Linked DNA regions of Homo sapiens: all the other regions are linked to region 1. The links are contacts of gene promoters, found by promoter capture Hi-C in blood cells and fetal thymus (Javierre and others, 2016). All regions are on one chromosome and are shown on one strand. Each heading gives the region's core, a stretch centred on a gene start or on the middle of the fragment in contact. The rest is flanking DNA. Distances are from core to core; before and after follow the strand shown.

Region 1 (3,519 bases), core at 313-2,812:
CCTAACTCTCAAAAAATTTTTAAAACCAACATAGATATTGATATCATGTTTCAAAAAGTTATTTTATGTGGCATGCAAAAAAAGTATGACCTTTGTTCTAGGTGCTACCCCAAAATATTTCATGTGGCACAGTGTCACTTGGGCTGCCCACTGAGAAACACTGATGTAGACCAACCTTCATCTCATAGACAAGAAATCCGAGCCTCTGAAGGTTAGGAGATTTGTTTGGGGTTGCACAGTTAGTGTCAAACTGGGATGAAATCCCACGCTTTTCAACTTGCCAGCTTATCCTCTACCATGTTCCCTTGCTCTGTGGTTCTAGAAGCACGCTCATTCTTTTGTTTGAGCTACAAACCCCTGATCAGAAAGATGCCTTCATCTGTGAAAATAAAATATTGACTTTCATGATTAGTTCTCTATTCAGGATTTCATATCATTAGTCAGCATTAAGTCACAGTACCTTGTCAAACTTCAAGTAATAAGAGTTTCTGGGGAGAATTTCATTTTCTTTGACGTGGCTTCTGTTGTGGTATCAACAATATCACTCATTTAAATTTTAAAATAGATTACCATCATGAAATCTATCAGGCCCTAAAAATTGTATACTCTTTGACTTAGTAACTCTACTACAAGGAACCCATCCTACAAAAGAAAAAAGGTCAGAGATGCAGCCAAAGACTTATACTCAAAATGATCAATTGCAGAATTATTTTTCTTAGTGAAAAAAGTCAAACATGTTAATGGTGGATTATTAAGCGGCTCTTAAAAATTATATTTTCAAATAATTTTAATGATACAGAAAATACTATTACTATAACGTTAAGTAAAAAAGGGAAATTAAACTGTGTTTTCAACTTTATCTCAATTGTCTAAATATAAATATATGGGCACATTTTTGAGAGAGTAGAGAGATACTCAAATGCCAGTTATTTATAATCAATGACTTCAGTTATCTTCTGTGTATTTCTAAATATTCAATAATGAGCTACTTTTGTAATTAAAGAAGTAAATAATTTTAAATGATTATCACTGAAATTCAATAGTCAGCCTCAGGTGTTGGGAGTACCCCAAACACTGAGGTACTCTGTTCTAAGCCCAGGGCTGGAAGAACCCTCTCACTACTACATATTAACGTGACCAAGGTCCTAAGTGAACCAAATTCTCAGTTAAGTTTTAACCAGTAAATGCATGCAATTACTTAAGATCCTTCATTTCTCTATATAAAGGAGGTATTTCTGAATACAAATTGACTTAGGATATGTATGGATAAGAATAAAAGACAAGCCATGGAAAATTAAAAAACATAGTGAGTGAAGTAAGTACTACAAAGAGAGAGAAACACACACACCCAAATCCCAAAACAAAAACAAACAAAACCAGGAATTTGCCAACAAATCAATAGTAAACTTTACTTAACAGTCAAAATCCTCTGACAGAGACACAAATCACAAGGAAAGATTAAATTTGTCCGGAGAGAGAAAAATCTTACCTTGGAGCCCATGTTGGTGTGAGGCACTCAGTGAGGTATTGGCAGCTGTTAGCAAGACAGCAGGGACACTGTTCTCTGAACGTGGATGTGCTGTTGGATTTATTGCCTCCTGTTATCTGAGGATTCTGTGTATGTGTGTGTGTGTGTGCCTTTGTCCACAAAGATTTAATTGCAACCTCCAACAGGGTTCATTCAGACCCTTAGCTCCCTGCGTCAAAGGCAGGAAGGCAGGGCTGGAGAGGATAAAGAGAGGGCAGATATTAGCCTAAGCAAAGAGGCACTGGACTGTACTGTTTTGCATCTGTGCTTATCTATCATCGAACTCTTTAACTCTTGCCTGGGTCTGAATACAAATTGGAAGCCAAGATGGAACCAGTGTGCAGTTCCTGTTCCTTGCTACTTAGTCAAAGTGGCTCCATGTACCCCAATTAGCTTCCTGGAAAGAAACAATGTATGTTGTTCTCAAGCCATAAAAACCCAACATCTGTGGCCTCTGTAAAGGCTTAGATTATGCACTGTGTCTTCACATCTCAATACTGGCTCAGTGCCTGATACATGGTAGCATCCAATAAATATTTCTTGCATGGATGACTGGATGGTTAACTACAGGAGAAAGTGCAGTTCCTTGTGGGATCTTGAGAGGCTCTAATGATCTATATTATTCTGACATTAAACCATTGGTGGCTCAAAGAACATAAGCAATTTATGAAAAAGCAAATACACTTTACGAGCAAGAGCAGTGCAGAGATTTCCTATTTGTGGAACTGGTGGGCCCCTCCTAATTGTGGGAATTAACTAGGGAACTTTCGATTTAACGCTAAAAAAAAAGAAAATAGTTTTTTAATTTTATTTTTTTTATTTTTGAGACAGAGTCTCGCTATGTCACCCAGGCTAGAGTGCAGTGGCATGATCTTGGCTCACTGCAACCTCCACCACCTGGGTTCAAGCAATCCTCTAATCTCAACCTCCTGAGTAGCTGGGATTACAGGTGCATGCCACCATGCTCAGCTAATTTTTGTATTTTCAGTAGAGACAGGGTTTCACCATGTTGGCCAGGCTGGTCTCGAAGTCCTGACCTCAAGTGATCCTCCTGCCTTGGCCTCTCAAAGTGCTGGAATTACAGACGCGAGCCACAGCGCGCGGCCTAGATGGAAACAGTTTTAAAATGTAAACCTAGAGCGAGAAATAGGGATAGGAAACAAAGACATCAGCAGAATGTATTCATCGCTATAGTTTGCTGCTGTAACAAATTACTACAATCTGGTGGCTTAAAACAACACGTATTTAGTATCTTGCAGTTCTGGAGGTCAGAAGTCCAAAATACATCACACCGGGTTAAAATGAATGTGTCGGCAGGGCTGCATTCCTTCTGGAGATTCTGGGGGATGGTTGTTTCCTTGCCTTTTCCAGCTTCCAGAGATCTCCTGCATTTCTTGGCTCCTAGCCACTTTTACCCTCAAAGCTAGCAGCAATGCATATTCAACTCTCCCTCTGACTCTGAGCCTTCTGCCTCCCTCTTTCACTTGTAAGGACTCACGGGATGACCCTGGGCCCACCCAGATATTCCAAGATCACCTCCCCATCTCAAGATCCTTAATCATATCTGCAAAGTCCCTTTTACCATAGGGGACTACCAAGGCAACATACTCACAGGTTCCAGGATTAGGAGGTGGACATCTCTGGGGTGCCACTGTCCACTCCCTACAGGGAGCATGGCACACTGCCCCCCACTTACATGCAGGGCCTGTGGCCTGAGCCTCTAGGGAATGAGGGGGTTAGGGCCAAAAGATGGAGGAACTGTATTAATAAAGATATTTGCAAGACTCTGGGCATAAGGCAGTATCCTTTTTGGAGTCCAGGTGACAATTCTGCCACCATGCCCTCCACCCTAAGTACAGTGTTAGAACTCTGAGGGTTGACAGCCTCCGGCATAGTGTACCTGTGTCCAATAGAGGGCGCTAGAGGGAGAGGGCTTGGGTAGAGCAGCCTCACAGGAATGTTCCGAGACAGCACCTAACTGGGGATGCCCC
Region 2 (3,519 bases), core at 586-3,085, 410 kb before region 1:
CTGAAATAAGTTGGCTCTAACACACTGCTGGCTTCAGCTCAGCCCTAAGAAATGAGGTCCTTTGGGGATGGGGCTCAGGAACCTGCATTTCTAATATTGTCTAAGATGATTCTGATACACGATACTGGTGGAGAATCTAATTGCAATTTTCTTTTTAGCTAGTGTTATGATCTGAACATTTGTATTTCCCCAAAAATCCTGTATTGAAACATGATCCCAAGTGTGATGGCATTAAGAGATGTGGCACCCAAAGGGAGGGTGATTAGGTCACGAGGGCAGGGCCCTCATGGATGAATAAAATTAGTGCCTTTACAAAAGAGGTCAAGGGAGCTTGTTTACCCCTTTCCCCATGCGAGGACACCTCTAGAAGGTACCATCTATGAACCAAAAAGCAGGCCCTCACCAGACACCAAATCTGCTGACACTTGCGTCTTGTAGTTCTCAGCGGCCAGAGTTGTGAGAAATAAGTTTGTGTTATTTGTAAGCCACATTCTTATAGCAGCCTGAACAGTCTAAGACAGTTAGTACATAGGTGTTCTTCAGAGCCAACATGTTATGGGGAAAGAATACAGGATTAAGCATTAGGAACACTAACGTTCTCGCTCCAGTTCTTCCACTTAATTATATGGCCTTGGGCAAGTCACTAACTTCTTAGTTTCCTAATCTAATAAGGAGGGAGTAGGACCCAAGAAAAGTTTAGTAGATGTAATTTTAAAAGATTTACTTATATACTGAAGTATTTATAGGTGTAATGACCTGGTACCTGTTATTTGGTATCTATTTCCTTAGAATGCTTTGGGAAACAAAAGGAAAAAAAAGGTGGGCTAGAGATAAGCAAAAAGATTGGCGAAATGTTTTGATAATGAGAACATGGGTTCTATTATACCATTCCCTTTACTTTTGATGTTTAAAATTTCTCCATAATAACAATTTCCTAAGAAGTCACTAATAAATAATCCAGATTCTTTTTATCTTTAAAAGTATGTTTCACATCATCCTTGGATTTATAATTTTTTTAATCGGACAGGGGTCAGGACTTAGCGCCTTCTATGTGTTTGTTGCTGAGCAATCTGAATCTACTTGTTCTGAAATTCCCAGAACAAATTAATGGCTGAGCCAGGATTCTAACAACTACCTTCTGAGTTCCAAATCCCACCGCCATTTCGGTTACACCAAGCAACATGAGGGTGCTGCTGTCCCAGTGCAGTGTCAAATGGGAGCAGGGAGATGAGAAAGAGGGTGGAAATGGGGAAATTTGAGGCAAAGCTTCCGTATCAAGCATCAATATTTATTTAAAGTACATTCTGCTTCTAATTACAATCAAAACCAGGGGCAAACATTGCTGTGGGCAATTAAAACACCAGTCACTGCAGCTACTCGGGAGGCTGGGGCAGAAGAATGGCATGAACCCGGGAGGCGGAGCTTGCAGTGAGCCAAGATCACGCCACTGCACTCCAGCCTGGGCGACAGAGCAAGACTCCATCTCAAAAAAAAAAAGCCAGCCACAAATTATCCTCTAAGATTCTGGGCTGTTGAGAAACTGCTTCTATCACTCCCATTTCTACCTATCATTTCAGAATGAAACGGGAAGAAAGGTGAAATAATGCAAGTCAACACAGTACTATATTTTCTTTATTTCAACTAGGCTGGCGCCTGATACAGTTTAGGAAACAGTAAGCGCTCAATAAATGTATTTGGCTGAATCTAGGTAACCCTAAACATTTTCAGCATTTCATGTGATACATGCTTTTTGAGTACCTATCATGTGCTAGACAACATTTAGAACTTTGATACTGTGGACTAATTTAGTAATTTTTATGTATCTCATTATTAATAAGTGACTATTTCAATACTACCAAAAAATTTTAGTCCTCTCCTATATAAATTCCATAGAAAAAATTAACTCTATCAGCTTCAATTACATGACAGATTGTTAGAACAATTTTTAAAAAGCAAGAACCAATTTTATGCTGTCTACAGGAAACTAACTTTAAAGACATTGGTTAAAAATACAAGGGTAGAAAAAGATATAAGATGCAAACTCAAACTAAAAAAAAGTGAGAGTGGCCATACTAACAGCAGACGAAGTAGGCTTCAGAACAAGGAATATTACCAGGGATTCAGAGGGGTATTACGTAATGCTAAAGGATCAATTTGCCAAGAAGACGTAACAATCCTAAACGTGCATGCATCAAACAACAGAACTTCAAAGTACATGAAGCAGAAACTAATACAACTGAAAGGTAAAACAGAAAAATCCACATTCCTAGAGCTCAACACAAAGTCTGGGAGCTAAACCCGAGACTCTCACATTAAGCTGGGTCTTTTGAAGCAGTCTAAAGTGGTTCCAGACTAGCAGCTCCCACTGGCACACATCAGAAAGTAAAACAAATTCTTTCTGAGGAAAGCTTCCATGATTTAGGACCTCAGGATTCCAACTGATTAAAGTCAATCAAATATAAGTTCATGGTGCAAAGTCATCAAACATATGAGGAAATAGGCCAGCATGAAAAAAAGTCCAGGAAAAAATAACTTATAACCCAAAGAACTGAATTTAATATTGGAATTATCAGATATAGAATACAAAATAAATCTGTATGAAGAAGAAAAAAGATTGTATAAAAGACAGACAAAACTGAGCATTGCACAAGCAATAAAACATATCATAAATGAGCCAATAATTTATTTTAAATGAATTGATTTTGAAAATATAATCAATTGGCTTTAAAGGCTCAATGGATGGGCAAAATGCCAATTTAGATATAGCTAAAGAGAGAATTAGCACATATGAGGATAGAGTAGAAGTTGTTGCTGCAAGGAAAAAAAGGGAAATAAAGAATATGCCATGTATCAAGGGTCATGAATTAAAATAAACCTAACTCCAGATACAGTTCAGTGAAACTGAACAGGAAAGATAAAAAAAGATCTTAAATGCTGAGGTAACCATATTATTTATTCTCCAAACTAGAACTTTTTTTGGAGTCAATGAGGGCATTCTTAATAGATGTTCTAAGAAAACAGACTTAAAACAGCTGTCGTAGGCAAACTCACATACCAGGTCATCCTATTAAAGCACCCAGTAAAGCCGGGCAGAGTGGCTCATGCCTGTAATTCCAGCACTTTGGGGGCTGAGCTGGTGGATCACTTGAGGTCAGGAGTTTGAGATCAGCCTGGCCAACATGGTGAAACCCCGTCCGTCTCTACAAAAAATATAAAAAATTAGCCAGATGTGGTGATATGTGCCTGTAATCCCAGCTACTTGAGAGGCTAAGACAGGACAATTGCTTGAACCTAGGGAGGGTGGAGGTTGCAGTGAGCCAAGATCATGCCACTGCACTCCAGCCTGGGTGACAGAGCAAGATCCATCTCAAAAAAAGCACCCAGTGAGAAAAAATGTCACCTATACATATACAGAATGATCACCGGACTGTTAGCAGTCTTCTTAACAGCAACAAATGGAAGTCAGAGAACTGAAATGTCAAATAATACATAAAAAATACAGACAGCAAACCACCATGG
Region 3 (3,519 bases), core at 281-2,780, 380 kb before region 1:
CGGACTGCATGGATCCTCCCTAATGGCAATAATGACTATTTCTGAATGATGGAATTACGAGTGATTTTATTTTCTTCCTTGTGCTTTTCTGTACTTTTCTAATTTCCTATAATGATTATGTATTATTTTCAGAAAGTTTAAGTGTTACACAATTATAATGAATAAAAACAATTGGTTTTAGCAAAAGACACTGTCCAGGAAATAAGTTTGAATACTGACTTGTTAAATGTATGGTATATAGGTAGAGTATCATTTATCTGAAATGCTTGGGATCAGAATTGTTTCAAATTTAAGATTTTTTTTATTTTGGGATATTTGCATATACATACTGAGAGATCTCAGGAATAGGACCCAAGTGTAAACACAAAATTCACTTATGTTTCATATACACCTTATACACATAGCCTAAAGGTAATCTTACATACTATTTTGAATAATTTTGTGCATTAAACAAGGTTTTGCCTGTGACCCATCACATGAGGTCAGGTGTAGAATTTTCCACTCTGGTGTCATGTTGGTGCTCAAAGAAGTTTTGCATTTTGGAACATTTTGGATTTCAGATTTTTTGATTAGGGATGCTCAATCTGTATTTGGATGATTTACGGTGGTGATTCTCAAACTATTACAAGGTGTTCCACAGCTAAAATTTAATAATAGTGTCCTTTTCCAATTTTCAATGGTTTAATTTATTTTGTTTAATGCCTTAGTACCAAACTTAAAATACCAAATTATTGACTTATATACATGTCAGTGAATTATTTACATGTCCAATAGGATCAAGAAGAAACAAAAGAGAGAACTTTGAGCCATAATTAGGAACTCATTCTCTATATCAAGAATGTCTTCCTTCACTCTCATCAGAACTCATACTAATGTAGCAGCTTCTTAAATAAAAGTATTTGTTCTGATAAATCACAAGTTTCAAGGTGTTAGATTTCCTGTATCCAAAATAAGTAATTATCAAACATTAATCAAATAGCTGTACCCAATAGTGTATAGCATAAAAAATTAAAACAATGATTGCTCTCAAAGAAATGCCATCTAATAGGAGAAATAAATCAAGCTAATGGAAATAACAAAAATATGATAGTGTATAAATAATGCAGGGAGTCAAAGAAAACATATTTAAAAGTAAGATGAAGCCATAAAATAAGGCCTAATACAAGAGGAACATTAAACTTTCAGAAAGTAATTTTTCTTCATTATTGGGACTCTGCTTGATCACTCTGTCACAAGAGATGCTACTCTACAACAATTAAGATTTTTAATCTAAATTAAATTTAAATTAAATTTAAACTTAAATTTAATCTAAATTAAATTAAAACTTAAATTTTTAAATTATCTTCTTATTTTTAAGATAATGGCAAGTTGATGGTTTTACAATAGTCTCAAAAGCTTTAGTTCCCCAGGATCCCAATCCTTTCTCTACTAGATTTTATGGTATATGTATGTCTTATTTATACACAGAAACATGCCTTCTTTTGTCCTTGCCTAACCTGGAATATCACTTGAAGAAGGCCTTAAAATGTTATTAAAAATTAATTTCCAACTATGACTTTCAACACTTCTAAATTCCACACAGCAACTTAGAGTCAGTTTTCATAAATGTTAAATTAGAATTTCAACACATAATTTAAAAGGAACTGTACAAGAATGTAAGTTTAAATAAGCTTGGAATGTCAGGGGAGGTGGCAGAGCAGGAAGCACCAGGGATCTGTCTCTTGAGAGAGACAGTGATTGTACTGGCAGAATCTGTCTGATAAAACTATTTGGGAATTCTATACTCCACTCAAAGGCTTGCAGTTTCCAGGGGAAGGTGTGGTTAATTTTGATCAATTTCAGCCTAGTGCAGCAGCAACTATGCATCGTCCCACCCCCAGCTCTGTGGCAGGCAGCTGTGTTAGGGTACCTAGAGTGGCTTTTAGGATATGGAGTGGGCAATAAGGACTTTGTTCTCCAAATGTTGGGGATCTGTGTTGTAATCATGACTGGTGCTTCTGGTTACAGAGAAGCAGACACAGAGGCAGGCAGCCACTGTTGCAACTCCCACTGCCATTGTTTAATACCACTCCAGCCAAAGTGGCTACCAGCGGATTTAAAGAGATGTTAAAAGACAAAAACTACAGAGTTAAAGATCCAATTGGCTTATACTTGTGACTCTAGAATCAGGAAGCATTTCATTCTACAAAATAGAATAAATGCTCTGGTGAGCTGAGCAGAGAGACTTGGCTTTATAAGGAGAAAAGGGCTGAAAGCAAAAACAAGGAATAACAAGCAGACTGGGCCAGGCATGGTGACTCATGCCTGTCCTCCCAGCACTCTGGGAGTCCGACACAGGTGGACCATTTGAGGCCAGGAGTTTGAGACCAGCCTGACCAATGTAGCGTAACCCCATCTCTACTAAAAATACAAAAATGCACACACCTGTCATCCTAGTTACTTGGGAGGCTAAGGCACAAGAATCACTTGAACCCAGGACGTGGAGGTTGCAGTAAACCAAAACCACACCACTGCACTATAGCCTGGGTGACAGGGTGAGACTCTGTCTCAAACAAAAACAAAAACAAAAAACAAACAAACGAACAAAAAAGCATACTGGTTACTTTGATAGAGGCAGAAAGCAGAGAAACTCTAGGAAAACAAGGGCAGGTCCCCAGTGAAACTCCACCTTCAAGACGAAAAGCCTGAAACCTGTGGCGCAAAGTGAGAACTTCTGTACCCATTTGCCTGCTCTCTCCTGATTCGTTCTTTCTAAATAGTGTCTTTTTACCAACTGAATGTTGCCTTTTACAGAACTACATATGGCCCACCCTGCCCCCCATCCTGTGGCTATAAAGACCCCAGATTCAGTCAGTAAGGAGAAAAAATGGCTGGATGTCAGGGAGAGGTGACTTGACTTCAGAGAAGCAGCTGGACATCGAAGAGTCAACTTGACTTCTGAGGAGAGAAGTAGAAAGTCAACTTGACTTCAGGGGAGAGTGACCTGCCCTTCCCATCTGCTTTCCAGCTCCCTTCTCTACTGAGAGCCACTTTCATTGCTCAGTAAAAATCTTCGCATTCACCAGCCTTCAGTTGTCCACGTGACCTCACTTTTCTTGGGTACTGGACAAGAGTTCGGGACCCACCAAGTGCAGTACCCAAAAAGGCTCACACTAGCCCTTTGCTCTCACTGGTGGAGGGCCGCCACCCCATGCAATGAGGCAAAGGGACCACTGAGCTGATAGCACTCTGCTGTCCTCAGATGGTGAAGCTAAGAGAGCACTGTAACATACCCTCTGGGGTTTTGGGGTCACAGGCACCCCCATCTGGATGCTGCTGCAGGCCTGCCTGGAGTTTGCTCCTGCCAGCGCCAAAGCAGCCAGCCAGTTCCTACACTCATTCGCTCATGTGCTCCCTCCCACAAGGAGTTGAGTGTGGAAGCCTGAGTAAATGGGGCACCCCTGTTGCAAGTCCTGCAAAGGGGTCAAGGAAAAATCCTGCATCAATTTCCAGATGATTTTCCTTACAGGGTTTAGAAGG
Region 4 (3,519 bases), core at 628-3,127, 360 kb before region 1:
ATTTCACACACAAAAAAGTCACACCTGGGGTATTGGTAACCATATGTATGTTTTATTCTTGGCAACCAAAGTCTATAATAATGTCACTCGGTTCCTTGACTTGCTTAGAACCCTTTAAGCTTCTTTAAAGGATATGGATTTATCAGTGAGACGAGGAATTAATTGTATATATTTTTAACAGGTTTTACAATAACCAGATAGCAGCTATAGATTAACCAGCTCTCCACAAAACAGGAGAGAAGCTTTTAGTAATTTAGAAGCTTTCTCTTTAAACTTCTGTATGTTGCTGTAGTCAATCAAAGATTTCAAACTCTAGATAAAATAGCAAGTAGATGCATAGGTCATTTGAACTTCAACAAGCACATGCTCTCTATCTCAACCTGCAACAGGCATTCTTGTGACCATTCACATACATCATTGTTTTTTGAATTTGATCAGTCTTGCAAATATTTTACCATTATTCAGCAAACATCCTGTGCCAGATACTATTGGCTCCAAAAGGCTGCCAGGTTGTAGGTGAAACTTAACTGCATTGATTTCACATGTAGTGTTTACTGTTCTGTACATGAAAATGCCTTACTCAGCACTGTTGCTGCAGTCTTTTCTGTCCGCAAGAAACTTTTAAAAGTGAAATATGTTTCGTACAGGTTTATTTGAAACTCTTCCTGGTCGGGTCCAGTGTGAAATGTTACTAAAGGTCACGGAACAATGCTTCAACACGTTAGAACGATCAGAAATGTTGCTTCTACTTTTGAGGCGCTTCCCTGAAACGGTGGTGCAGCATGGGGTGAGATTTGATTCTTCCCCTTCTTTTAATATAAAATACAATGGGTCATCAACAGATTCATCGGTATGGTGAGGAGCTACAAAGCAGAAGTTTCTGAAGAGTACTGGTTAAGATTGAACTGAAATAGAAGGTTCTTTGTTAGTAAAGCTAAAAGGACATTCTTTTCACCATATTTTGTAAGTTTCCAGGAGAAGCTGTTTTATCAGGAAAATCACCAAGCTCTGACAGTACTGTTTATTGCAATCCATATGGTAAAAAGTAATCTTTTTCCGTTGTATTCTACAATGTGCTTTTGAATTTAGCGTAGAGTTTATAGTCTTAACAGATGCGTTTTTCCTGTGCTTCTGCCCTATGGAGACTATTTTCATTCTATTCCTGCCCCTTTCCTTCATCTGTAATAATTATCGAGTGCTATTGGCAGGCATGGGAAAGTGCTAGGTATCTCCTATCTTCCTAAATCCCCTGAAGTAAATAGTATCCCACTTTACAGATGACGAAACTGAGCATTTTGTGTTTTAGTAACTTCCCATAGCCAGTGAGGTGTCAGGTTTCAAACCATTCACTCCATTCGTTCATACTCTGCGGCTTATTTCCCATGCCATTTTCTGGCGTCTGGCCCGGGTTAATCATTTCCATACCTGCTTGTGTTAGTCTCCTAGGGTTGCCATAACAAAGTACTACAAACTGGGTAGCTTAAAACAACAGAAGGACTCCCACAATTCTGGAAGCTAGAAGTCTAAAAGTCAGGTGTTGGCAGAGGCACTTTCCCTCTGAAGGTTCTGGGGAAGAATCTTTCTTTACCTCTCCCTGGCTTCTGATGGTTGTCAGCAATCTTTGGCATTCCCTGGCAGGCAGCTTCATCACTCCTCCAATTTCTGCTCCATCACCACATGATCTTCTTTCTTTTGTGCCTTTGTCTTTACATGGCCTTTTTTGTCGTTGTTTTTTGAGGCAGAGTCTTGCTCCGTTGCCCAGGCAGCAGTGCAGTGGCATGATCTTGGCTCACTGCATCCTCTGCCTCCTGGGTTCTACCAATTCTCATGCCACAGCCTCCTGAGTAGCTGGGATTACAGGTGTGTGTACATGGCCATGTTATAAGGACACTAGTCATTGGATTGAGGGCCTTTCTAATCCACCATGACCTCATCTTAATTAATTATATCTACAAAGATACTTTTTTTAAAAAAAAAGGTAAGATGTCTATGAGGTCACATTCTGAGGTTCTGCGGGGATATGAATTTGGGGGGGCACTGTTCAGCCCAGCACACTTTCTGGTCATAACTCTGACCTTTCACCTTCTGTGTGATGTAATCTTTCGCACTTTTCCACTCCTGTGGTGCATCCCTGTGTGGTCACAAGGAAGTTGATACCAGTGTCTTGGTGGATTTGAGTAAGGGACCGTCTACTATGCTAAGGCATTGGTAATGGAAAGGTAGCCTTAAAACTCTGACTTTTCTGTCCATTCTACACCAGACTGTATGACTGGCTACACCTCAGAACTTATCTTGAACGTGATACGTTTTGTCTATATTGATACATCTTCATGTAGAGAATAACCTTAGTTTCTTTATTTCTTAGAAAATCTCTCTACCTCTGTATTATCATTTGAACTCCAGTTCCATTGCTTCCTTTACATTTCTATAGACATTTTGTTAATTCTTGTTCATCGTTAATTAGAATTTGCTAATTATGAAGAGAATAACCAAGACAGAGTGGTCAGATGTTCAGGTGAATTTGGCCTTCTAGGGTGTGTGGCTGGTGCATTCTTTTATTTTCCAGTCTTTAAAATGTGATTATTTGTTTCTCAGATAAGTTTGATTATGCAAACTGTGATAAGTAAAAAAAATACCCCATTACTTCATATAGTTCTGACAACTTATGCTGTAACACATTTAAATGAGTAATTTTGTTTTGAAATAGGTTGGCCTTGGGGAGGCACTATTAGAGGCTGAAACTATTGAAGAACAAGAATCTCCAGTGAACTGCTTTAGAAAATTATTTGGTAAGGAAAATTGTATTCTCTATTACTTCTATGGTAAATTAATATGCTGGGGTAAGTGTTGGTTCAGGGATAAGCTCATATATGAAAGGCAAAGGAGCTTTATGTGTTATGGCATTTAAGTTCTTTTTTTTTTAATTTAGAAGCATTTTAGCTGGGTGCGGTGGCTCACGCCTGTAATCCTAGCACTTAAGGAGGCCAAGGTGGGTGGATCACGAGGTCAAGAGATCGAGACCATCCTGGCCAACATGGTGAAAACCTGTCTCTACTAAAAATACAAAAATTAGCTGGGCATGGTGGCGCACGCCTGTAGTCCCAGCTACTACGGAGGTTGAGGCAGGAGAGTCGCTTGAAACTGGGAGGCGGAGGTTGCAGTAAGCCGAGATCGCGCCACTGTACTCCAACCTGGTGACTGAGTGAGACTCTGTCTCAAAAAAAAAAAAAGCATTTTAAACAACTTCTAAACTTTTGTTATGTAAGATTTGATACCTCTGAAAGAATATGCATAGCTGTATATGTAAGTATGAAGCATAGTAATAAACATCTGAATTCAATGGAAGAACTGGACCCTCACCCACAGCATAAAAGTGTCTGTGTTTCCTCCCTGACTCCAGCCACTGGTGTCTCTCTGCACAGCACATTTTGAATACATGAGTCATAAGGGATTTTTCCCCCTATATATTTTAGATACTACATCAAATGAACTCTGAAAGCTTTTGTATTTATCGGAACT

Evidence for each region. The method cuts DNA at HindIII sites, captures the fragments that hold promoters and counts their contacts. A CHiCAGO score of 5 or more calls a contact.
Region 2: a fragment that was not itself captured here is called in contact with the fragment with the promoter of SLC18A1 in region 1 in 1 of 17 cell types (neutrophils); the score reaches 5.2 in neutrophils.
Region 3: a fragment that was not itself captured here is called in contact with the fragment with the promoter of SLC18A1 in region 1 in 1 of 17 cell types (neutrophils); the score reaches 6.2 in neutrophils.
Region 4: a fragment that was not itself captured here is called in contact with the fragment with the promoter of SLC18A1 in region 1 in 2 of 17 cell types (monocytes and neutrophils); the score reaches 6.7 in monocytes.

What each region holds. Positions count from the first base shown.
Region 1 is chr8:20,181,574-20,185,092 of GRCh38, forward strand. SLC18A1 (solute carrier family 18 member A1) reads right to left here and starts at 1,563. Exons shown (of 16, transcript NM_003053.4): 1 at 1,490-1,563. The HindIII fragment of the contact is 10,670 bases long and covers 1-3,519 here.
Region 2 is chr8:19,771,781-19,775,299 of GRCh38, forward strand. All of the region lies in intron 2 of LOC107986920 (a long non-coding RNA gene), which reads right to left. Among named protein-coding and RNA genes, the nearest start is that of CSGALNACT1, 16 kb to the left of the region's middle. The HindIII fragment of the contact is 1,142 bases long and covers 1,265-2,406 here.
Region 3 is chr8:19,799,289-19,802,807 of GRCh38, forward strand. No RefSeq gene overlaps it. Among named protein-coding and RNA genes, the nearest start is that of INTS10, 16 kb to the right of the region's middle. The HindIII fragment of the contact is 275 bases long and covers 1,394-1,668 here.
Region 4 is chr8:19,819,732-19,823,250 of GRCh38, forward strand. It overlaps INTS10 (integrator complex subunit 10), which reads left to right. Exons shown (of 17, transcript NM_018142.4): 4 at 648-787; 5 at 2,708-2,789. Among named protein-coding and RNA genes, the nearest start is that of INTS10, 4.1 kb to the left of the region's middle. The HindIII fragment of the contact is 3,239 bases long and covers 259-3,497 here.